Regions from separate parts of the Homo sapiens genome. Here regions 2, 3, 4, 5 and 6 are each linked to region 1. The links are contacts of gene promoters, found by promoter capture Hi-C in blood cells and fetal thymus (Javierre and others, 2016). All regions are on one chromosome and are shown on one strand. Each heading gives the region's core, a stretch centred on a gene start or on the middle of the fragment in contact. The rest is flanking DNA. Distances are from core to core; before and after follow the strand shown. Region 1 holds the start of PTGER4 (prostaglandin E receptor 4). Region 2 has its middle 48 kb from the start of LINC00604. Region 3 has its middle 30 kb from the start of LINC00604. Region 4 overlaps LINC00604 (long intergenic non-protein coding RNA 604). Region 5 has its middle 39 kb from the start of LINC00604. Region 6 overlaps LOC105374736 (a long non-coding RNA gene).

Region 1 (3,717 bases), core at 403-2,902:
TTCTGTGCTGACACAATCCTAGAGGTTACTGTTCAAAGGAAGCATCGACAACAGAAGTGATTAGAGTACTGATTAAAAGAAGATTTTTAAGAAAATGACCAATCACCATCAATCTTAATATTGGCTAACAAATGTGTATTTTTCTTTCTCATATTATTAAGTAAATAGTATAAACAGAATAATTCTTTATTAGTATATCCATATAGTGCCTTTTGCAAGTAAATATGATTCTGGATATTTTATGACCTGTAATTACTTGAAATCGGAAAGCCCTTTTAGTTTCTCTTATTACCCATGTGTTGCTGAGACTAACTGAAGAACCAGTTAGGAGGTTTGTTCGTTCACGAAATAACATTTAAGAAATGGGTACCTGCTTATCACATAAAAGAATCCAGTTATTTACTTACCCTGTGAGGAGACATAATATGTTAGAATGCTTGTACACTGCAGATGGGAAGAGGTTTTTCCAGGAATTTAAATTGTGCAATAAGGCCACACAATCTTACTTAAAAAAAATGGTGAAGGGGTTTTAATTACACCATGAAGTTTTACAATTTTTTAGGTTTTTAGTTCTGGTTTTAGAAAACAGAGTAGAAGGATTACAGAGAAAAACTTCACCATTAGACAAGAAGTCAAAATGATTCTAAGGGCCGCGCAAACAGGCTTTTCCAAGAATTAATCATGAGGTGGTGCTTGGAGAATTCCTTTACTCCAGTGACTTTGAAACCCCCTTCTCACTCTCCACTAGTCTTTCAAAGGATTCATGGTGAATTGGGTCTAACGAGTATAACACGGCCGGCCGAAGGCATGAAGCTCACGCTACCCTTTCAGGGCGGAGAAGTTCCCAGGAGGAAGAATGGAGAAAAAGATCGCAGTTAGGCAGTCCTCCCAACCTCACCAAGGCTCCACCTCTCTCCAAAGCCGCAAGGCTCTGCCACCTGCGCCGGGAGAGGCTGCAATCACTGTCTCCTCCTCTTTCTTTCTCTTTTTTTTTTTTCTTTTTTGCCTGGGGTGCCCGACCAAGCGCAGCCCGCAGTCTGGGCACTGCCAACTGACTCCAACTCCTTTTATGGTGAGAGGATGGATTCTTCGTTATTTCCCCGCCCAATCTGGTACCCACCCACCCACCCACCTACCACGTCCGCTGGGCGCACCCAAGTCTAACCCCGGGGCGCACGCGCTAGCGCAGACACCGTATTTCTTCTCCTTTCTCGGCCAACCCTAGGTAGAATCCTAAAACAACTGCCCTCTCTTCCACGATCTAGATGTTGCGGCCCGCGGACAGGAGGTTCAAGAAATAGTACACTCCGAGCGGCAGGCAGCGAGGCGGAAACGGTCGCCGGTTTCAGTGGTGGCCCCACTGGAAGCCGAGTTCAGGAGCGGCTAAGCGGTCGCCGGGGAAAGCACCGGGGCTTCCCAGGGTCCCCTCCGAGTTCCCACTCCGCACCTCCGAGGGCGTGAAAACCACGGGAGCCGCCCCACCCCGCGCGCCCAGCCCCGCCCCAGCCCAGACACCGCCCCCCGCCAGTCTTCCCTGCGGCGCCCAGGGAGGACGCGCTCCGCCCCCTTCCAATCCGGCCAATGGGCGCCCGGGCAGCGCGCGGTTTGCCTCCGCCTCCGCCAGGGAAACTTGGAGGAGGAGAAAAGTTTGTACAGAGGGTGGAAAGGCGAGAGCGGAGCTCCAAGCCCGGCAGCCCGAGAGGAAGATGAACAGCCCCAGGCCAGAGCCTCTGGCAGAGTGGACCCCGAGCCGCCCCCAGGTAGCCAGGAGCGGCCTCAGCGGCAGCCGCAAACTCCAGTAGCCGCCCGTGCTGCCCGTGGCTGGGGCGGAGGGCAGCCAGAGCTGGGGACCAAGGCTCCGCGCCACCTGCGCGCACAGCCTCACACCTGAACGCTGTCCTCCCGCAGACGAGACCGGCGGGCACTGCAAAGCTGGGACTCGTCTTTGAAGGAAAAAAAATAGCGAGTAAGAAATCCAGCACCATTCTTCACTGACCCATCCCGCTGCACCTCTTGTTTCCCAAGTTTTTGAAAGCTGGCAACTCTGACCTCGGTGTCCAAAAATCGACAGCCACTGAGACCGGCTTTGAGAAGCCGAAGATTTGGCAGTTTCCAGACTGAGCAGGACAAGGTGAAAGCAGGTTGGAGGCGGGTCCAGGACATCTGAGGGCTGACCCTGGGGGCTCGTGAGGCTGCCACCGCTGCTGCCGCTACAGGTGAGATGGCGTTGGGCTGACGTTGGGGTCAACGGGTAGAGAACGCAGGGATGCGGCCCTCGCCGAAGAGAGCCAAGAAGGGAAGAGCGCGCTCTCCAAATTGCTTTTGTAACTTGTTTTCAGTGAGCATTTTATTGATTCAGAATCTATCGAGAATAGCACTAGCGAGCTACTTTTCCCTTGAGATGGGTCTTATTCATCTTGGCAATGGAGTGAGTTGGATTGTGGGGAGGAAGAGGAATGGGAAAATCAGTTTATAAATATTAATGTCAGCAAGAGTGTGCTGTTGGCAGGACGTATCGCGAGCCTGGAGATTTTGGTGGCCGCAGTTGGTAAGTGGCTACAATCCAGAAAGTAGGATCGAGTTGCTCCCCTTGTCTTATCAGTGTATCGTTTCTCGGGCGCGGGTCTAACACCTTACAAGTGGTAATTTCCGCTCACGGCAGCTTTGTCTCTCTTCTACCATCCCCAGACCCAGCCTTGCACTCCAAGGCTGCGCACCGCCAGCCACTATCATGTCCACTCCCGGGGTCAATTCGTCCGCCTCCTTGAGCCCCGACCGGCTGAACAGCCCAGTGACCATCCCGGCGGTGATGTTCATCTTCGGGGTGGTGGGCAACCTGGTGGCCATCGTGGTGCTGTGCAAGTCGCGCAAGGAGCAGAAGGAGACGACCTTCTACACGCTGGTATGTGGGCTGGCTGTCACCGACCTGTTGGGCACTTTGTTGGTGAGCCCGGTGACCATCGCCACGTACATGAAGGGCCAATGGCCCGGGGGCCAGCCGCTGTGCGAGTACAGCACCTTCATTCTGCTCTTCTTCAGCCTGTCCGGCCTCAGCATCATCTGCGCCATGAGTGTCGAGCGCTACCTGGCCATCAACCATGCCTATTTCTACAGCCACTACGTGGACAAGCGATTGGCGGGCCTCACGCTCTTTGCAGTCTATGCGTCCAACGTGCTCTTTTGCGCGCTGCCCAACATGGGTCTCGGTAGCTCGCGGCTGCAGTACCCAGACACCTGGTGCTTCATCGACTGGACCACCAACGTGACGGCGCACGCCGCCTACTCCTACATGTACGCGGGCTTCAGCTCCTTCCTCATTCTCGCCACCGTCCTCTGCAACGTGCTTGTGTGCGGCGCGCTGCTCCGCATGCACCGCCAGTTCATGCGCCGCACCTCGCTGGGCACCGAGCAGCACCACGCGGCCGCGGCCGCCTCGGTTGCCTCCCGGGGCCACCCCGCTGCCTCCCCAGCCTTGCCGCGCCTCAGCGACTTTCGGCGCCGCCGGAGCTTCCGCCGCATCGCGGGCGCCGAGATCCAGATGGTCATCTTACTCATTGCCACCTCCCTGGTGGTGCTCATCTGCTCCATCCCGCTCGTGGTGAGTGACCGGGGCTGGGGCCCTACTCGGCCTTTTTCTCGCATCCACCTCCCGCGTCCATTCCCCGCTCCCTGCTTTCCCTCTGAGTCCTTGGCAGTGAACGTGTCGCCTTTAGGTCG
Region 2 (3,717 bases), core at 588-3,087, 490 kb before region 1:
CTGATGAAAATAATTTTAGTATAAAACAAAAATATGTCATATCACAGTATATTGAAACAAATTACTGCCTATGTGCCTCTCTTCCACATCCAGATTTTGATGAGTTATCCTAGCTTTATAACTTCTTATAAAACTGCTAGGCCAGGCACGGTGGCTCACACCTGTAATCCCAGGACTTTGGGAGGCTGAGGCAGGCGGATCACCTAAGTCAGGAGTTCGAAACCATCCTGGCCAACACGGCGAAACCCCGTCTCTACCAAAAATAACAAAAATTAGCCTGGCAGGGTGGTGGGTGCCTGTAATCCCAGCTACTCAGGAGGCTGAGGCAGGAGAATCGCTTGAACCTGGGAGGCAGAGGTTGCAGTGAGCCGAGACGGCACCAGTATACTCCAGCCTGGACAATAGACAGTAGATTTCAAAAAAAAACCTTCTATATGATTTTGTTATTGAAATTAGTAGTGCAAGAGTAATATAATAAGGGTAAAGAAGAAAGAGTCTATAGAGAGGTATGCATAGGCTGGGCAGGAGAGAGATAATCAAGGTTATTGATGAAATAACAAGATGTGAGTGATTTTAAGCAGTCTTTACATCATTACAGCTAAGATTATGGAATCATTTCTAATCAGCTGGTCAATTAACTTAATACCCTTGAGACTTGTTCATGATCTGTTTAAAATCTCACTTTGAAAATCACAACATCTTAACTTTATTGGTAAATGCAAAGATAAGTAGGCATTATTTGTTCTTGTTACATACAATTAAGTAAATATAATCAATAAATGAATCAATAGAAAAGAACAAGACTAAAGTTTTACTTTCTTTTCTCTGCCTCTGCTGATTTTCTTTTTTATCTTTAATTTTGCCAATAATTAGGAGACAAGGTAAATTCAGGACAGGAATGATTCTATAAAACCATGCTTCTGGTTTATATTATCTGACATACTTTTTTAATCCATCACAAGATGTGCTTCAAACTGACGCAGACAGCATTACCAAAGAGGACAGCTGAGGTTAGACTACTCACAAACAATTATAAACAAATGAATTGTTTACTTAATTTGTAATGTTCGAGAAGTCAATTATGCTCCAATTTTCAAAGCCCTGCAAGCACCCAACCAGATTCCTTTCCTTACGCAGATCACAGGTTCGTACTGCAACTCACTACTGTCTCAGAACTAAAGCTTTCCTGTTTCTCATTTGTTATGTTCCACCAATGTCAAAGAGAGCACAACAGTCATGAACTTATCAATAAATCACATTAATGTCAGGCTCCAATTGTGTGGTAATGTCCTGGAAAAATGCAGCCAGGGCTAAGTAAATAAGTCTAGCTGTGTTGTTATTTCAGAGGTGGAAGAAGCCATTTTACATAAGCACACTAAATGGATAAGAACTAGATTGTCCCCACTTCCAGAATGTACTTCCTGGTATACGAAGAGAAGCATTACTCTTAACAGGTTATTTAATGTCACTTAAGTGCTCTCTTGACCTGAAAGAAACACAAGTCCAGCTATTTCTTAAGGATGAGAGTGGGTGAGCTTCCAAGATGGGTTTGGAGATATTACAGGTGCAGTTAATATTAAGGTCTCCTTGCCTCTGACTTCTCATAATCTTACTTCAGATACTACTGCATTCTTTTTACTCTAGATTTTACTATTAATAGAACATATCATTCTTAAAAAATAAATTTGCCAGTTGAAAAATAATTCAAATGTTAAAGTCAAATAAAGGAAATGCTAAGGTTAATAAGGTTCTTCCAAGGTTCCTTTCTGCCACCATCTGCCCCTGCCAAAATCCCAGACCTCAAGGGAAACCATTCAACAGATGGGCGTAAAAAATGCCAAAACTTCTGGGGCATACACAGGCATAGCATATATTTTTAAATATGTCAGTAAAAAACTATACCATCCTGTTAGATTAATTTAAGAAATTTACTTCTCCATATAGCACAAGTGGTACCTATAGAGCCACCTCACATTCTTTAACAGCAATGTAATGTTTTTTGGTGTGGGTATAATGTGATCTATTTAACCAATCCTCCATAAAGTATAAAGTATTTTATATTATTTCTCATTCTTTAATTCTACAAATGTGCTACAATGAATATCTTGGTACACATTAGCTGGCATAGTATTTATTAGAAATCACTTAGTGTTTACTATCCTCCAGGCACGGTTACAAACCCTTTAATCATTCAATTCTCATAAGAAGTGTTTGAATTCAGTAGTTTTATTATCTCCTATTTGGAATTAGGAAAAAAAAAAGGAGACATAGAAAAAGCAATTTTTCCATGTAGCTATTAAGTGACAATGCTGGTTTCAAACTGAGGCTGTCATGCTCCAAGATCAAAACTCTTAACAACTACACTGTACTGCCTAAAGTGCCTTTGCTTTGGATGAAGGTCCAAAATTTAAAAACTCACCTCTGTGTTTTTCTGAATGTGCTTAGATCTTTAATTACCAGCCAGCTTCTGGATTAAATGTTTCACCTTGACACCAAGCTTAAATGGACAAATCATTCTCTTAACTGTATTCCAGTTCTTTGTTCTCAGCCCAGTTGTGGTTCCCTCACTCTAGAATTCTGATGTGCTTCTGTGATTTAAGCCCACTCATAGCTTTGGCTTGAAAATAAAATAACTTGATCACAGCAGTATAAAAATGTTTAAGGAGTCTGTGTCAGTTATGATACTTGGGAAAAACATGAATGTTTAGGACACTGAAGAATACTTTTGCTCAGAATCAATGGCCTGAGATTAATGTGTGGGTTTGTGACCTTGAAATTTAATTTCCTATCCATACGATCCAGAAATTTACCAAAATTATCCCTCAGATATATTTCAACAGTAAAATTTAGCGATAAGTCCCTACGTTTCCTGATTCCTGATTCGGATGTCAGCGATCTAGTTTGTAGGGTTTTCCTGATCCTATGAGTCTGAACTGTCATCATCTCAGCCATTATGAACATCAAAACGAGCAATGTGAACAAACCATCAGTTCTAACTTTTACTGATCTGGCTGAACCAGTGTAAATGGATCAGCAGTTTTTTCTTCCTCGACTTAATGTTCTTGAGGATGTTACTCAAAAACATTCGCATAAAATGGAGCCATAAGAAAAAAATAATTCCTGGCATGGCATTTTAGGATTTTTTTGTTATAAATTTTTGGGGAAAATGTGTTTGACGTATAAGATGAAAGTTTCTCCTGCATTTGTGCAGGAGAGCTTAGGCTCTTGGGCCAGAGACCAGACATTGAGGGTGGGAATCAACCAGGTTTTCAGACTATGAAGTATGAAAGGTAGGAAGCTGTGAAAAGCATTGAAGAGGAACTAAAAAAGAGTTCACATGAAATGGCATACCAAAAGAAACAGACATTTTTAAGGTGAATTTTGCAGCCTTGCCCGAGGGTCAAAATAATGTATTGGTCAATCTAGACAGAAGCTGTTTCTTAAAGTGAAATTTTAAGTATTATATGACAGATGGATTATAGGAAATAAAATTAAGGAAGAAAAAGTTACTGTAATTAAGGAGTCATTTTTTAAATTCAAATCCCAACTCATATTAGTTGTGTAAGCACAGAAAAATCGCTTAACATCTATGAGCCTCCATCTCAAACTTACAAAAGGGAGCTATTTGTTTCTACCTTGTAGATCTTTTGTGAGTATAAGCTGATTTAACATACTTGTAAAAGATTTATAAACTGTGAGTATCAAGTAAATATATAG
Region 3 (3,717 bases), core at 613-3,112, 470 kb before region 1:
AAAACTTTTTTAATAAGGGAAATTACCTCTTTTAATTCAAAAGCATCTTATAAAATAGTAGTAATACCAATACATTGTTATTTGCTGTTGGATAGTCTTATCAAAATATTGTTTTCATATTTTCCCACATTATTTAGTCAAAACATTAAAATATGTGATTGCTGGTAGCTCGCTGTTTTACTAACTCTGTATATTTTCACATTAAAACATTACATTCTAGTTAATAGCAGTACATCAACATAGAAAGTGACTAAAGTAAGCAACAGGGCATGTCTACAAGAAGAGTGATTGTTAAGAATGCTTTTCAAAATCTCATTATGTAAGGTTCAATACATGTTTAATATAATTGTAATTCTTGATGCAGATATGATTTGATCTACAGACACATGCTTTCTCTCTATCTTGCTAACATTTACTTTGCAATATTGGATAGATAAGTATTCACTTCCTACATTATTAAGCACATGTAAATGCTATTCACAGCTGTGCCCAGTAGTACATAGTGATTACCTCTTTTTTCCTGCATATTTGCTTTTTCTCTAGTGATTACAGTTGTCGTAATTTTTTACTTACTGAAATTTCTTTGTACATTTTTTAACAATTCAGACCCAAGTTTTCTCCAAAGTTTGTAAATACCTCATCAATACATTTCAGCACATTAATTATTTTATCAATGTGATTATTTTGAAACAATCTCTCCTGAACCCCCTGACTTTGCATATCTTGGCTGATTGGCCTTTTTTGTGTGTGACTAAATGATCCTCTAGGGCAAGGATTGTATTTTTATGTCTTTAAAGTTCTCACTGCCAGCATAGTGACTTGCATATTGTCAGCTTTCAGTAAACTACTCAACAAATGATGCCACTACTGCAAGAGGAAAGCAAATGGAGAAGCTATGGGACTGAACCACTTACTCCAGAACATTCTAGTCAACTGACTACAGAAAGCTTTTATTACCTCTGGCCTGTAGTAATAGGACAGCCTAGATCTGTGATTTTTGCCTCTTGAATCTGTGCAAACAACTGGCAGTTCCACTCATTTAATTGACCTGTTACTTGGGTATAACATAGCTACTGTGCACTACATACTTGTTTGAATTGGCAACTAGAAAATCATTCAATATCCTTCTTAGTCTATGAGTCTTCTATTTTACATAAATAGTTAATGAAAAAAACCACATAAGTACCATTTTATTATCATGACCTGCAGAACACATTTCAATATCTCTGAAAGTAACCAATGCAGGAAGGCTTTGATCTTCCAAAATCAAGGGAGAGAATCTTGTTTCTTTCAACATAATTGGAAACCACACCACAAGTCAAATGTACTAATACCTGAGAAACGCAATTATATGATTATTTTACAAATTTTATGTTTGTTTCTTTCATCCTAACCATGGAAAATGGCATGTTTATAATATAAGTAGTACAATGGAAAAGCAAAGAGCAGATAGAATCTAAAATATGGAGACCCAACCCTAAGACCTAGTTATGAAAGCCTGGCAGACTTCTCAGAGTCTCTATTATTTCATATAAAAAATAACAATAATACTAACTTTAACTTCCAGGATTTCTTTGACCATATGAAAAGACAAAGAGTATTATAAAAATTTGTAAATCTTGGGGCACATTGAAAACAAAATACACTTTCATCAGGTATTTTAGATAGAACCATGGTATAAACATTTACAACGTATATGAGAAAACAATAAAAGATCATAGACAATGAAATACTGTAAAGTGTCAGGGAACAGGCATGGTTTAAAAGCATGAGATCTATAGACAATCTACCTGGGTTCAAATCCCAGCTCTAATATATACTGGCTGAGTGATTATAGATAATTTGCATATCCTTACCTTTATCCATTTTTCTGTAAATTTGAAATATTAATAGTATCCATCCCACAAGGTTGTAAGTCAAATGAGTGTGTAAAGCATGTAGCTTGATGCCTAGTGTATGAATATGATGCCACATCTTTTTAAATTATAATTTCATAAATTAAGCATAACCTTGAAATGGATTACATTTTTAGCTAATCTAGAATGGAAACTATACTACTTGTTATGTTATTTCCTCTTTGTTTGTAATCATACAGTAAAGATTAGACATTTTTAATTATTATTGCTCAACAATAGTATTAGAGTTCAATTTACCTTAATCCTTCTTTATAAATCTAGAATATTCTGTGGCACTATTTTGTAGTTGTAAGGAAATATGCAGTTATTTTATTAAAACCACTGATGTCACATTATAACATCAGAATTTTAAGCCAAAATTAAACTTTAGGGAAGATTTAATCTAAAAACCTCAATTTTCAGATGGAAAACTGAAGCACAGAGAGTCCATTTACTTGATTTACTTGATTAAGACCACTTGTTAGTGGCAGAGTTTACAGTAGAATCCAGGGCCTTTGACACAGATTGCTGCTTTCTGGATACCTTCAGTTATCTCCAAAGGTGTACCAGAAACAAATGATTTTCCAAATTGTTAGAATTACTAGTATACATAGCTGCCTTAGCATGGGCCTTTTGTGTACATTCTTCTCAATGAACTTATTCACTAGAATATAAAAGAATGTTTCAAATAAGTATACATATACATATACATACATGCCTACGCATACACAAAGTTATGTATTATATGTGTGCATACTGGAAGATAGGCACATTTTTCAACAGTTATCTGTAGTCACTTACTGGAAGTAGAGATGCCTTGAGAAATTGAAACAATAACTCATAATGTATTTTCAATTAGCTGATGCAACTTCTTTTCATGTTGAAGCTTGAAATACTAGCTAAATCCACTTACACTTGCTTAAGTTTTGAAGTATGACAATCCCCATCTGAAATGAGGATACAGAATAACTGGCTTTGTATTTACTCTACAATCTATTGTTTCCTTCAAGGAGGTCTTTTTAGCATCACTCCCATAAAAAATAGTAAAATTAAACAGAAAAAAGAGAGGCAATTGAAATACAATAACCTGTAAATAGCTTCAACAGCTTCTCAGAAATGAGTAATTTCTATCTGGGAAAAAGGATCCATAAAAACTCAAAGCAGGGCGGGCACAGTGGCTCCTGCCTGTAATCCCAGCACTTGGGGAGGCCCAGGCAGGCAGATCACTTGAGGTCAGCAGTTCGAGACCAGCCAGGCCAACATGGTGAAACCCTGTCTCTACTAAAAATACAAAAATTAGCCAGGCATGGTGGCGCACGCCTGTAATCTCAGCTACTCGGGAGGCTAAGGCAGGAATATCGCTTGAATCTCAGAGGTGGAGGTTGCAGGGAGCAGAGATCATGCCACTGCACTCTAGCTTGGGCAACAGAGTGTGACCCTGAAAAAAGAAAAAAAAAGAAAAGAAAGAAAGAAAGAGAAAAAAACTCAAAGCATTTCTGTATAAATCATGAGTTTCCCTGTGTGATTCGAAAGATGGCAGGTTTATCCACACATAGGATATAATGAACCAGGACAATCGCCCCAGCACAGTCTTGGGGGGACCTCATGCATGCTACTGCTGCTAAGGTAGATGAGTAGAGACTGAGTAAACCAACCACTGAGGAGAATAACGTCTCAACTAGCTCATTCTGCCATCAAGGAAGCTTCTTGGTGTTTGCTTTAATCTGATTTTACATGGATCCCATGCTGTGGCAACTTGAAGGCAGAGAAAAACAAGATAATCTGTCCTGAGCTCTGTGTGTCCCAATGGCATTTTTTAAAT
Region 4 (3,717 bases), core at 411-2,910, 420 kb before region 1:
CTGAGGGACAATATTGAGTGTATAGTCCAATATGTGTCTGGAGTTCAGAAAAGAATTCTGGACTGGAGAAAAAAAATCCAAGAGCTATAAAAAAATAGGTACATGGTAATTGAAGCTATGGTTAAAGATAAAATTTCCCAGCTGGGTGCAGTGGCTCACGCCTGTAATCCCACCACATTGGGAGGCTGAGGCAGGCGAATCACTTGAGGTCAGAAGTTCAAGACAAGCCCAGCCAACATGGTGAAACCCCATCTCTACTAAAAATACAAAAATTAGCTGGGTCCGGTGGTGCCTGCCTTTAATCCCAGGTACTCCAGTGGCAGAGGCAAAAGAATCGCTTGAACCCCGGAGGCAGATGTTGCAGTGAGCCAAGATGGTGCCACTGCACTCCAGCCTGGGCAACAGAGCGAGATTCTTCTCAAAAAACAAACAAACAAAAGATGAGATTTTCTAATATAAAAGTAAAGAGTATGAAAAGAAAAAAGATCTACAAATGAAATTCAAATAATTCCAGTAATTAATGGCCAATATGAAGAGAATGTGCCCCCAGTGAAGACAAGAGACTAAATGCCAAAGAGGTAGGAAAGGAAACCAGAAAGATATATTATTTCAGTAACCAATAAAGAGATCATTTAAATAAATGAGGTGTATTCGATGATGTCATATTGTGCTGAGACACTTATAAATAATTTTAAATCTCCATTGCATTTGGTAGCATGGAGGTGGTTGGTGACTTTAGCCAGTCAGTTTGGAATAGGTTAAGGAGTGAGTGGAGGGTTGAGGAAATAGCAACTGCAAGTAGATACAACTCTCTTGAAAGATATGCTAGGATATGAGAGAAAACTAAGATAACAGAGGGAAGAGGTGGTGGGGTAAAATGTGTTTTTTAAAGAGTTGAATAGATCTGAGGATATTTAATTGCTGCCAGTAAGAATATCATTAAGAAATACAACAGGGTTACTATAACAATGCAGTGCCTATTTCATATAGCTAGAAGAGATTTTGAATATTGTCACAAAAAATAAATAATAAATGTTAAAAGTGATGGATGTGGTAATTACCCCAATTTGGTCATTATACTATGTGTATTTGCATTGAAACATCACATTGTATCCAGTAAATATATATAATTATTATGTGTTAATTAATTATAAATAAAATAAATAAAGTGTTAATTCTCAAAAGCAATATAACCAACAGGGTAAATTCCTTTGAAAGACAGAAGATGAAAAAAGAAAGAAATAGAGAAAGAAAGAAAGAGAGAGAGAGGGAGGGAGGGAAAGAAGAGGAAGGAAGGAAGGAAGGAGGGAAAAGAAAGAAGGAAAGAAAGAAAGAACAAAAGAAAGAACAAAAGAAAAAAGAAGAAAAGAAAGAAAGAAAGTAAAAGAAAGAAAGAAGGAGGGAAGGAAGGAAAGTAGGAAAAGAAAGAAAAGAAAGAAAGAAAGAAAAAAGAAAGAAAAGAAAGAAAAGGAAGAAAGAAAGAAAGAAAGAAAGAAAGAAAGAAAGAAAGAAAGAAAGAAAAGAAAGAAAGAAGGAGGGAAGGAAGGAAGGAAGGTAGGAAAAGAAAGAAAAAGAAAGAAAAGAAAGAAAGAAGGAAGGAAAGAAAGAAAAGAAAGAGAGAGAGAGAAAGAAGGAGGGAAGGAAGGAAGGAGAGAGAAGAAGGGAGGGAGGGAAGAAGGAAGGAAGGAAGGAAGGAAGGAAGGAAGGAAGGAAGGAAGGAAGGGATTTAGATTGGATATGGGAAAGAGGAAAACCTCAAATATAACCAAAGAGAAGAAAAAGAGAATGGGTATGTGTTATGGCTAATTTCATGTGTCAACTTCACTGGATCACAAGATGCCCAGGTATTTGGTTAAATAGTATTTCAGGTGTGTCTGTGAGAGTATTTCTAGAAGAGATTCATGTTTGAATCAGTATGCTGAGTAAAGCAGATATCCCTCTCCAGGTGGATAGGCATCATCCAATCCACTGAGAGCCTGGATAGCACACAAAGGTAGAGGAAGAGAGAATTTTCTTTCTACACCTGACTGCTTGAACTACTACATCAGTCTTCTCCTGCCCTTAGACTGGGACTTACACCATCAGCACAACTAATTGTCAAATGTTCAGACTCATACCAGAGCTACACCATTGGCTTTTCCGTGTGTGTGTGTGTGTGTCTGTAACATATATATATATAGAGAGAGAGAGAGAGACAGAGAGACAGAGAGACAGAGAGAGAGAGAGACAGAGAGAGAGAGAGAGAGAGAGAATGCACCAAAGGGGAAAAATACAAATAAGAATGAATGCTGACTTCATATGAGAAGTAATGCATCCCACAAGACAATGAAACAGTATTTTTAAAGAGCTAAAAAAAAATTTTTTTAGTCACTGCTAACCTAAAAGTCTATATTCAGTAGAATAGCCTTCAAATATGAAGGTGAAGTAAAAACATTTTCAGACTAACAAAGCTGATAGACTTCATTGCCAGCAGATTGGCACTATAAAAATTGGTGAAGAGAGTACTTCAGCTTTAAGTTATGATACCAGATAGAAACACAGGTCTGCAGAAAGAACTGAAGAGCATTAGAAATGGCAAGTATGAAAGACTTTAGTTAATAATTTCTTTAAAAAATAATTACCCACTTAAAGCAAAAATAATAATCCATTATGTAGTTTGTAATATGTGTGGAAGTAAAACATATGAAAAAAGTAGCATAAAAACCAAACATTAAACATATTACAGGTGAGTTATTAACAAATGTATAAACTAAAATTCTAAAGATTTCAGAAGCATATATAGGAGAACATAATTTATGAATTGGAGTAGTAACATATTTTTTGGATGAGAAAAAAGAACAAAACAAAGGAGAATGATTGATAAATTCAAATTTACTGAATCGAGTAGGATAGGGAACTATAAACAAAAATAAAAGACAAATAATAAACCAGGAAAAGATATTTATCCACAAATTGCAAAGAATTAATACTTAGATTACTATATAAAGAATAAGGATCAAATCAATAAGTAATAAAAGAGTGATCTAAAGCAAATAAAATGACCAAAAGGTCAGTATTATTCATGGGGAGGAAACTAAAAGTATTAATAAATATGTTAAACGCAACTCAAACTTAAAGAATTCAGGACAATTACCACTAAAACAATCATATGACACTAGTTGATTTTCATTCAACTGACAAAAAAATTAGAAGTCTGGCAATAAGAGGCTATTTTACTTCTCTTACGCTACTGATTAGCGTGAATTGGTACATGCTCTTTGGTAAACAATTTGGATTTGGCATTAGCTGATAAAGTTGAAAATGCATTTTTCCTATGAACACGTAAGTTTCTTCCTGGAAACTTTAACACACATAGGCGTAAGGGACATGGACAAGAATATTCACGACATCTTTGTTGATAACAGCAAAAACTGGAACAATCAAAATTCTGACTAATCCAAAAAGAAATAAATATATTTTATATATTTTTATAAGGGGATAATTCACAATAATTAAACAACAAACAATAACAGCAATTTAAAATAAGTACAAAAACAAAATTTCAAAATGATAAATTCAGAATACTATTTATATAAGCTTAAAACAAAACAAAACTGCGTTTATGAACCCATACCTATGCATATTTATTCATTATATGAGGTGGGCAGATGTCTCACAATTATAGATAATTATAATCCACAAGGTTTTACTACTTTTGATGACAGAAACTAGTCTAAT
Region 5 (3,717 bases), core at 520-3,019, 400 kb before region 1:
ATGTAGATTCAAATTTCAAATCTGTGAAACCTACAGAAGGTAGTATGAAATCATAAGCATCTTTTGCTTCCTTCCTCTCTTAGGTTTATAGAACAGATCTCTAAATTTTCATCAGCTTTTTTTCTACAAATTCTCTCTCTTCCGAGAAGTAGCATAAATCCTGGGGAAACTGATCGTTGTACCTTTGTAGTGAGTCATCTAAGCCACAGCAACTTTGTCTGGAAGTTCCATTTCCTTGCAGCATCACACTACTTTTTGAAAAAACATAAATATAGGTTTGGCCTTGGGGACTTCCATCTCTCAGCCTTCTACTCATTTCTCAACACCCAGCACCTTGAGGCTCAGGTTATTATAGAGAAATCATCCCCTGCCAATGTACTTTATGAGCTCAATTTTTTTCCAAGCTTCACCTACACGTTGCTGCATTCTGTAGCTAGCTTCCTGATAAAAATTATTCCTCTGCTAATACTGCCATAATTTATTGTCCCTCCCCAACATAAGTTTTACAAAATCACCTCTGAATGTGGAATTTTAAATACAGAGGCAAGCTAACAAAACAGAAAATTTTGACAAAATTGTCCTAAAATCATGAAATTTTAGAGCTCAGAACTTTAGAAACCATCCAAGTGAAATTTGCCTAAAATTTTTGAAAATTTAAAATTAAATTAAATTTTAAAAAAAGAACTTTAGAAACCAGCGCTTTTACCTCTCCCTATAGCCTTTGTTTTATGGTTAGGAAATTAAAGCCCACAATGGGAAAATTTATCTGGAACCAGCCAGAATGCAATCTGGGTCTCCTAGTCAATGACTTTCAATGAACAGGTAATCTTGCAAATTCATCCTACATTATGCCAAATCTATAGCTGTTGATTCTCACCTTCAATCTGCCACCTTTGGTAAGTATTCAGGAATATAGATCAAGTCATTTAAATTGGCTTAGCTCAGGCTCTGCTCATGGACCAGGCTCAGCCAGACAGCACATTGTTTTATTTGGTCTGTGTTAATGCCCCACAGCTAGTGAGATGGTTTTCATCTGTCATCTCTCTGTTGACAGACACACTCTCCCCTTGCTGGGCTTCTTGCTACCTGAACCTCAAATGTTCCCCCAAAGTCTTTTACAAGACTTCCCCAGAAAGTGATGAATGCTGCAAAAAGGGAAAACCCAAGTCAGTGAGGAGGGGAAATTGGCAAGAATTTAGAGTTAGAATGAGTGACTGGAAAAGAGAACTCTGGAAGTAAACAGGGGTGAAGCATAGGCAGGTAAAAGAGAAAACCAAAGAGATGGTGCAAACGTACCTAGATTCTGCTATTCCAGTGAGCAATGGAGAGGCCTAATGATGTTAACAGGGAAGGAGCTATGCCTATCCAGGCTGAGGGAGGAAGGAGGCATGCTGGACACCTGCAGCACTGCTGGTTTGGGTTAGAAGAACCTAGCAGAGCACTTTCTCCACAGTTGTTATCCCTGCCTCTCTCTCTTATCCACTTCCCATCCATAATTGACAGTTAAATAAAGAAACGCTCCATTTAGATAACACTTTCTCCCTTTTTACAGGACTCAACAGGGAGCAGTCGGCTATTTAAACATACTTTCCATAGTTGGTCATTTGAACACACTGTGTGGAAAGGAAATGACTGTCATGCCAAGGGAAGGAGAAGGGATCATCACTTTTAATAATTTCCCCGACTTTCTTCCCCTGAGAGTTTGCTCAATTCCTGAACTAATGGACACTCGTAAATTGGGAAAGAAGAAGTTATTAAGAAAACCCGATGAACATCCAACCACACTAAATTCTCCACTCTAGTTGCCTTACACAACCCAACTTTTTCCTCCTTTACATAAGAACAGGAGAGCAAAAGTTGTATTTAATGAAGAAAACTAAATTTGAAAGATGACTTAGGTTAAAAATGTATTCCAATCTCTTTTATATTTCTCACATAATTTATTACCCACATTAATGTAATTATGTACTGTTGAAATCAAGCCAAAAAAAACAAAAGTTAGCATAATATGTCAAAAGGTTACTGCAGGTCCATAAAAGATGCTAGTAGTTTCAATACAAAAATTGGTTAAATAATCTAGTGTTTAATTTGAAGCTGCCTTTAACACAGTTTGAAGAATTTTTGTTTTATGAAAGCTACACAAAGTCCTAACAACCATCTGAAATTTTTTCAATGTCTCCTATTGCAACTAAATTGCTACTTCTGGCAGGGTATAATGGCTCACACCTGTAATCTCAGCATTTTGGGAGGCCAAGGCACTAAAATCACTTGAACCCAGGAGGCAGAGGTTGCAGCGAGCCAAGATGGTGCCACTGTACTCCAGCCTGGGCAACACAGCAAGACTCTGTCTCAAATAAATAAATAAATTGCTACTTTTAATTTTATTTAAATATTCTGTATGTGCTCTGAAGCATTATGAGAAAATGAAATAATTGGCAGGACTCTGCAGTCAGTGTTTCGTTTGGTTAAAAAATAATTTGAAGTATATAGTGGATAATACATATCAGAAGACAAAAAACGAAAAATACATGTCTGCTTTATAAATCTCTATAAAATCTAATTGGAGTCAGTTGTTGTATAAGCAGAGAATGAACAGAAAAGCTAAATATAAAATTGAAAATTTAAAAATACTCTAAAAACTCTTATGAAAAAAATTGGTCAGCCTCTCCTGGAATGACTCAGACAAGCTCTTCTTTTTGGTAATGGGCCTGGAATCATATCAAAAAATATAAGTTAAGAAAACACTATCTTTTTTATATTATGAAACTAAAATTCATCAAAAGATAATTTGGAGATCTATGGGAACTATTTTAAAATAACAAATGCCAAAAAAATTATAGTCCTTAATTTGTTATGTTAATGATTTGAAACATATGTGGTAATATCAAAATATTTAACTCAAATGTGGCAACTCCACATGTGTTTTACCAAGAATAACTTTGTAAAAACAGACTCTCTACCCCACGCTCCTAGAAAAAGGAGAGAAACAGGTACAAAATTTTCTGCTTAAGTCAAATCTATGTGGGTATCAAAAATTAACAACCCTTACTATTGTGGTAGTCTCTGAACCCCTTTAAGAATCAGAATCTTCTTCTAGAGAAAAAAAAATAGACCTACACATGCACAGAATTCTGGAAGCTTAAGAACTTGTGAAGCCAATTTATAAAATCCATGCTAAGAACCCTGGATCCTAAGGTAAACTCCTGAGAGAAAGAGAAACAAACGTCAAACAAGCCTTTAGATAATATTCTGTATCAGTCGTGGCAAAGAGTGATCTCCATCCACCCAGAACCACTCACGTGATTTATGACTGTTTTTCAGTGTTGGGAGCCTGAGAGCTGTAGGACATGATTTAGTGGCTCCTACGACACTGGGACTGTGGCCTGGGTTGCTGGTGTCAAAGAAATGGGACTTTTTTCAGGTTCCCAGCTAACTTGGTGACTTGAAGGTTGTAGGCTGGTACTGAAAATTGCTCACTAAGCAGTGATCACCCACCCTCCACCCACCACTCCGTACCCCCAAATTCACCCAGTTCTCTCAGTAGCTGAAAAATAGGATAGCTTGCTGTTGGTTTCTTTAGACCTGAATAGATGTGGGCTTAGCATTTTCCCATGATGTCTTTGAAGAAGAAAGCGGGAGTAAAATCACAATAGTGGGAAAGGAAAATTCTTTGACGTTGGCATCTTCATTCTAAGTACCCCTCATCCGCTGGTACAC
Region 6 (3,717 bases), core at 391-2,890, 360 kb before region 1:
TTGTGCCAGTTTCCTGATAGTCTTTTCTTTGGCTGACTGAAAAATATAATAATAATAACAGGCCTGGCGCAGTGGCTCATGCCTGTAATCCCAGCACTTTGGGAGACTGAGGCAGGCAGATCACATGAGGTCAGGAGTTTGAGACCAGCCTGGGCAACACGGCAAAATGCTGTCTCTACTAAAAATACAAATATTAGCTGGTTGTGGTGGCACATGCCTGTAGTCCCAGCTGCTCAGGAGGCCAAGGTGGGAGGATGGCTTCAGCCTGGGAGGTGGAGGTTGCAGTGAGCCGAGATGACACCACGGCACACCAGCCTGGGCAATAGAGCCAGACCTTGTCTCAATAATAAAAACAGCAACAAACATAATAATAATCACAGACACTACACATTGAGAAAGTCAATTACCTTCTAACAGCTATCTCCAGTGCTATGCCTCATGTTCCCAGCTCTAAGAGCATAAGTTTCAGATATCAATTGGCTAAAGAGAATCTTATTTCCTTTCAAATTACATTACATTGTCCTCCTCCATGAATTTAACCTTAAGTGTGTTTTTCTCAGCTCATGGATATCTCCTGCTTCCATCCCATGAGTTGAACATACAAGAAATAAGAAAGTCTCATTCAATAAAAAGATATTTATCAAAAACACTAATAGCGATATTTAACAGTGTGATTTAGTTTTTATGGGTTTCATTTATTTTTTTAGACCTAACAACGTTTCCATAAGATTTTTACAATATAATAAGAAATACTATTTTTTTAAGTGGGGGGTAACTGGCTTCAAAAGACACTCGGAGAAAAAGTAAGGACTTCTACCTAAAGAGGGTAGGCACACATGTATCATTTCCCTCAGGCCTGATCATCTTGGATTTCTAAAAATGACATCAAATTATCTTTTCAAACCATAACTACATTCAAAATCAAGAAAAGGAACCTCCATGGACCAGAAACCATTAGGAATCCCTGGATGAGTGATAAGCAGAAAGAGGTCATCAAATCTAAGGAATAAAATCAGGCTAGTGGGGGAAAAAAATACCATGAGAAAATAGTATTGAAATCAAAATTAAAACATTTCAATAATATGAATAGCAGGGGAAAAAACACAGCTGAAGGTGGATTGGTGAGCTAGGAGTCTGAATTGATGAATTTCCCAGCAAATATTGTAAAGGAATTTTCCAGAATATATCATAAAGAGATAAAGAATTAGAAAGTATGAAAGAAAAGTCAAGAAACATGAAGGATTCAGAACGTCCAGTAGTCACCTCCTCAGAAAATCAAAAAGGAGAAACTAAGATTTTTAGAGAGGAAAATTGACAGAAAAAAAAAGTAATTCTGGTCATTCCTAGACTCCTTTTTAATAATGAAGGAATCATTTTTAGAATTACTTAGTCATACTTCAGTCAACTCATATTTATTCAGATTTAACAATGTGTCAAGCACTGTGCAAGGAGCTGACAATCTAATAAGAGTAAAAAAATCCTCTCCCTGGAAAATGCATACATTCACAGATCACAATTTTCTACATTATTTTAGGGGTTAAGAGTTCATGGATTCATAATCTTTTATATTTTTATTTGGAACAGTTCACCTGTTTTGACTTGGCAAAAACAAGACTATTTTTTCCCTATTGAATTACTGGATTGTTTGACAAAGGGTATCTTAGCAACTGATTGTTTGAAGACATGAAATCATACAGAGACTCAGTTTAGAATAAAACTGGAATTGGTAAACTCACACTCTCAGTGCTATCCTACAATAGTTATAGAATGGTCATACTCACATTCTGAGTGTTATCCCACAGGGGTTATGGAATGGTCATCTTTCATCAATTGAAGTAAATTGAAGTCTCTGAACAATTGTTAATTACATTAGTAACAAAAATCACTAGTTTTCTACTAATGGTTAGTAGACATCTCACAGAGAATCTCAGCTGCAAAGAAAGTCAGCAACCTGAAAAGAAGACAATCAATCTACAGGATTTTGAGTGAGGAAAAATTTTGTTGGCACCACCTAGGGAGACTAGGGGGGAAAAGCACTTGTCTGAGATAATATCTGTAAATAAAGAGTTAACTATTGAATTAACTTCCAGAAAATTAAGTGTATTTAAGAATATCACCAATTTATATTGGAACATTCATTGAGTTTTAGATCAGATACTTATTGGCACAGAGAAAAGCTAGAGAAAATTAGGAAAGAATCATTTAAAAACAGCATCAAATAGAAAAGACTGATTTGATAAGAACTAAAGATGGAAGAATGGCTTTATAGATAGGCAGACAACCAACTTAAAAAAGACAAAAAGACAGGTTGGTCAAAATACTGGATTTACTAATAATGTAAGGAAATAACATTACACAATGGAACATAAATTACATAATCTAAAACAGAATAAAAACTGACTCCACTTGTGCAAGATGTGAATATATAAGAGAAGAACTACAGTAGTCTTTCAAGGGACCAATACAATATCTATCTACATGCCTATGCCCTGGCTTCTATACCCCAGTGGTCATAAACATAATATTTTAAGATCTGTATTTTTACAGAGCTTTCTGATTATGACATACTGAGTGAAAGGTATGGCATTTTATTATCAGCTTCAGAGTACACCCTGGAGGCAACAATTATAATCTGTTAAATAATTGTGGGGTTTTTTTGAACAGAATCTCACTCTATTGCCCAGGCTGGAGTACAGTGGTATGGCCATAGTTCACTGCAGCCTCAAACTCCTGAGCTCAAGTGATCCTCCTGCCTTAGCCTCCCAAATAGTTGGGACCACTGAGGTGCCCCACCACACCTGGCTAACTTTCTTTATTTTTTGTGGAGATGAGGTCTTACTGTGTTGCCCAATTCAATTTCAAGCTCCTGACCTCCAGGCACCCTCCTACCTTGCCTTCAAATGCACTGGGATTACACGCATAAGTTAAATAATTTTAGATATCAGCCTGGCTTCTCTGAAGTTATATGAAGACAGTGAAGTTGTCAAAATAATACTATCTGATCTATATTTGTTGTTATTAATTTATACCTCTGTGCACTCTAGGAATTACTTTTACTTATTGTTTAGTTTTCTTCTTTCTCAGAGTTCTTAAACTTTTGTGGTTCTTTCTGGGCTCCTAACAAATTATTAAAACTTGTTACATATTGTATTAGTCCATTTTCACACTGCTATAAAGAAATACCCAAGACTGGGTAATTTACAAAGAAAAGAAGTTTAATTGACTCACAGTTCTGCATGGCCAGGGAGGCCTCAGGAGACTTACAATCATGGCTGAAGGAGAAGGGGAAGCAAGGCAAGTCTTACTTACATGGCAGCAGGAGAAAGAGAGCAAAGGGGGAAGTGCAACACTTTTAAACCTTCAGATCTTCTAAGAACTCACTATCATGAGAACAATATGGGGGAAATCCACCCCTGTGATCCAATCACCTCCCACCAAGTTCCTCCCCTGACGCATGGGAATTACAGTTCGACATGAGATTTGGGTGGGACACAGAGCCAAACCATACCTTATATGGTCTGACAAAGACATTGTTAAGAAGATACTAAATTACATTAAATCTGTAGTGGAAAGAGGTAACTCACAAAGCTGGCCATCAAAGGTCAGGGTCCTTTAAGTAAGTACTCGAGACATGCTGAGGTCTTCAGAGTCAAATGCCTGTAGTAATTGCAACTGGGTTTTTTTTTTTTTTGCAACCACTGACCAATCACACTTTTC

What was found. The method cuts DNA at HindIII sites, captures the fragments that hold promoters and counts their contacts. A CHiCAGO score of 5 or more calls a contact.
Region 2: a contact is called between a fragment that was not itself captured here and the fragment with the promoter of PTGER4 in region 1, in 4 of 17 cell types (endothelial precursors, naive CD8 T cells, total CD4 T cells and 1 more). The highest score is 5.5, in endothelial precursors.
Region 3: a contact is called between a fragment that was not itself captured here and the fragment with the promoter of PTGER4 in region 1, in 2 of 17 cell types (activated CD4 T cells and endothelial precursors). The highest score is 6.6, in activated CD4 T cells.
Region 4: a contact is called between a fragment that was not itself captured here and the fragment with the promoter of PTGER4 in region 1, in 4 of 17 cell types (activated CD4 T cells, monocytes, neutrophils and 1 more). The highest score is 7.0, in activated CD4 T cells.
Region 5: a contact is called between a fragment that was not itself captured here and the fragment with the promoter of PTGER4 in region 1, in 1 of 17 cell types (activated CD4 T cells). The highest score is 18.4, in activated CD4 T cells.
Region 6: a contact is called between a fragment that was not itself captured here and the fragment with the promoter of PTGER4 in region 1, in 1 of 17 cell types (total CD8 T cells). The highest score is 5.2, in total CD8 T cells.

The regions. Positions count from the first base shown.
Region 1 is chr5:40,678,263-40,681,979 of GRCh38, forward strand. PTGER4 (prostaglandin E receptor 4) reads left to right here and starts at 1,653. Exons shown (of 3, transcript NM_000958.3): 1 at 1,653-2,216; 2 at 2,689-3,598. The coding sequence starts at 2,732. RefSeq lists a silencer at 1,316-1,535 and an enhancer at 2,671-3,198. The HindIII fragment of the contact is 6,362 bases long and covers 1-3,717 here.
Region 2 is chr5:40,190,085-40,193,801 of GRCh38, forward strand. No RefSeq gene overlaps it. Among named protein-coding and RNA genes, the nearest start is that of LINC00604, 48 kb to the right of the region's middle. The HindIII fragment of the contact is 1,316 bases long and covers 1,180-2,495 here.
Region 3 is chr5:40,208,180-40,211,896 of GRCh38, forward strand. No RefSeq gene overlaps it. Among named protein-coding and RNA genes, the nearest start is that of LINC00604, 30 kb to the right of the region's middle. The HindIII fragment of the contact is 1,834 bases long and covers 946-2,779 here.
Region 4 is chr5:40,261,529-40,265,245 of GRCh38, forward strand. All of the region lies in intron 2 of LINC00604 (long intergenic non-protein coding RNA 604), which reads left to right. Among named protein-coding and RNA genes, the nearest start is that of LINC00604, 23 kb to the left of the region's middle. The HindIII fragment of the contact is 3,828 bases long and covers 1-3,574 here.
Region 5 is chr5:40,277,455-40,281,171 of GRCh38, forward strand. No RefSeq gene overlaps it. Among named protein-coding and RNA genes, the nearest start is that of LINC00604, 39 kb to the left of the region's middle. The HindIII fragment of the contact is 2,734 bases long and covers 403-3,136 here.
Region 6 is chr5:40,320,074-40,323,790 of GRCh38, forward strand. The region is part of intron 1 of LOC105374736 (a long non-coding RNA gene); the gene reads right to left. Among named protein-coding and RNA genes, the nearest start is that of LINC00604, 82 kb to the left of the region's middle. The HindIII fragment of the contact is 8,266 bases long and covers 1-3,717 here.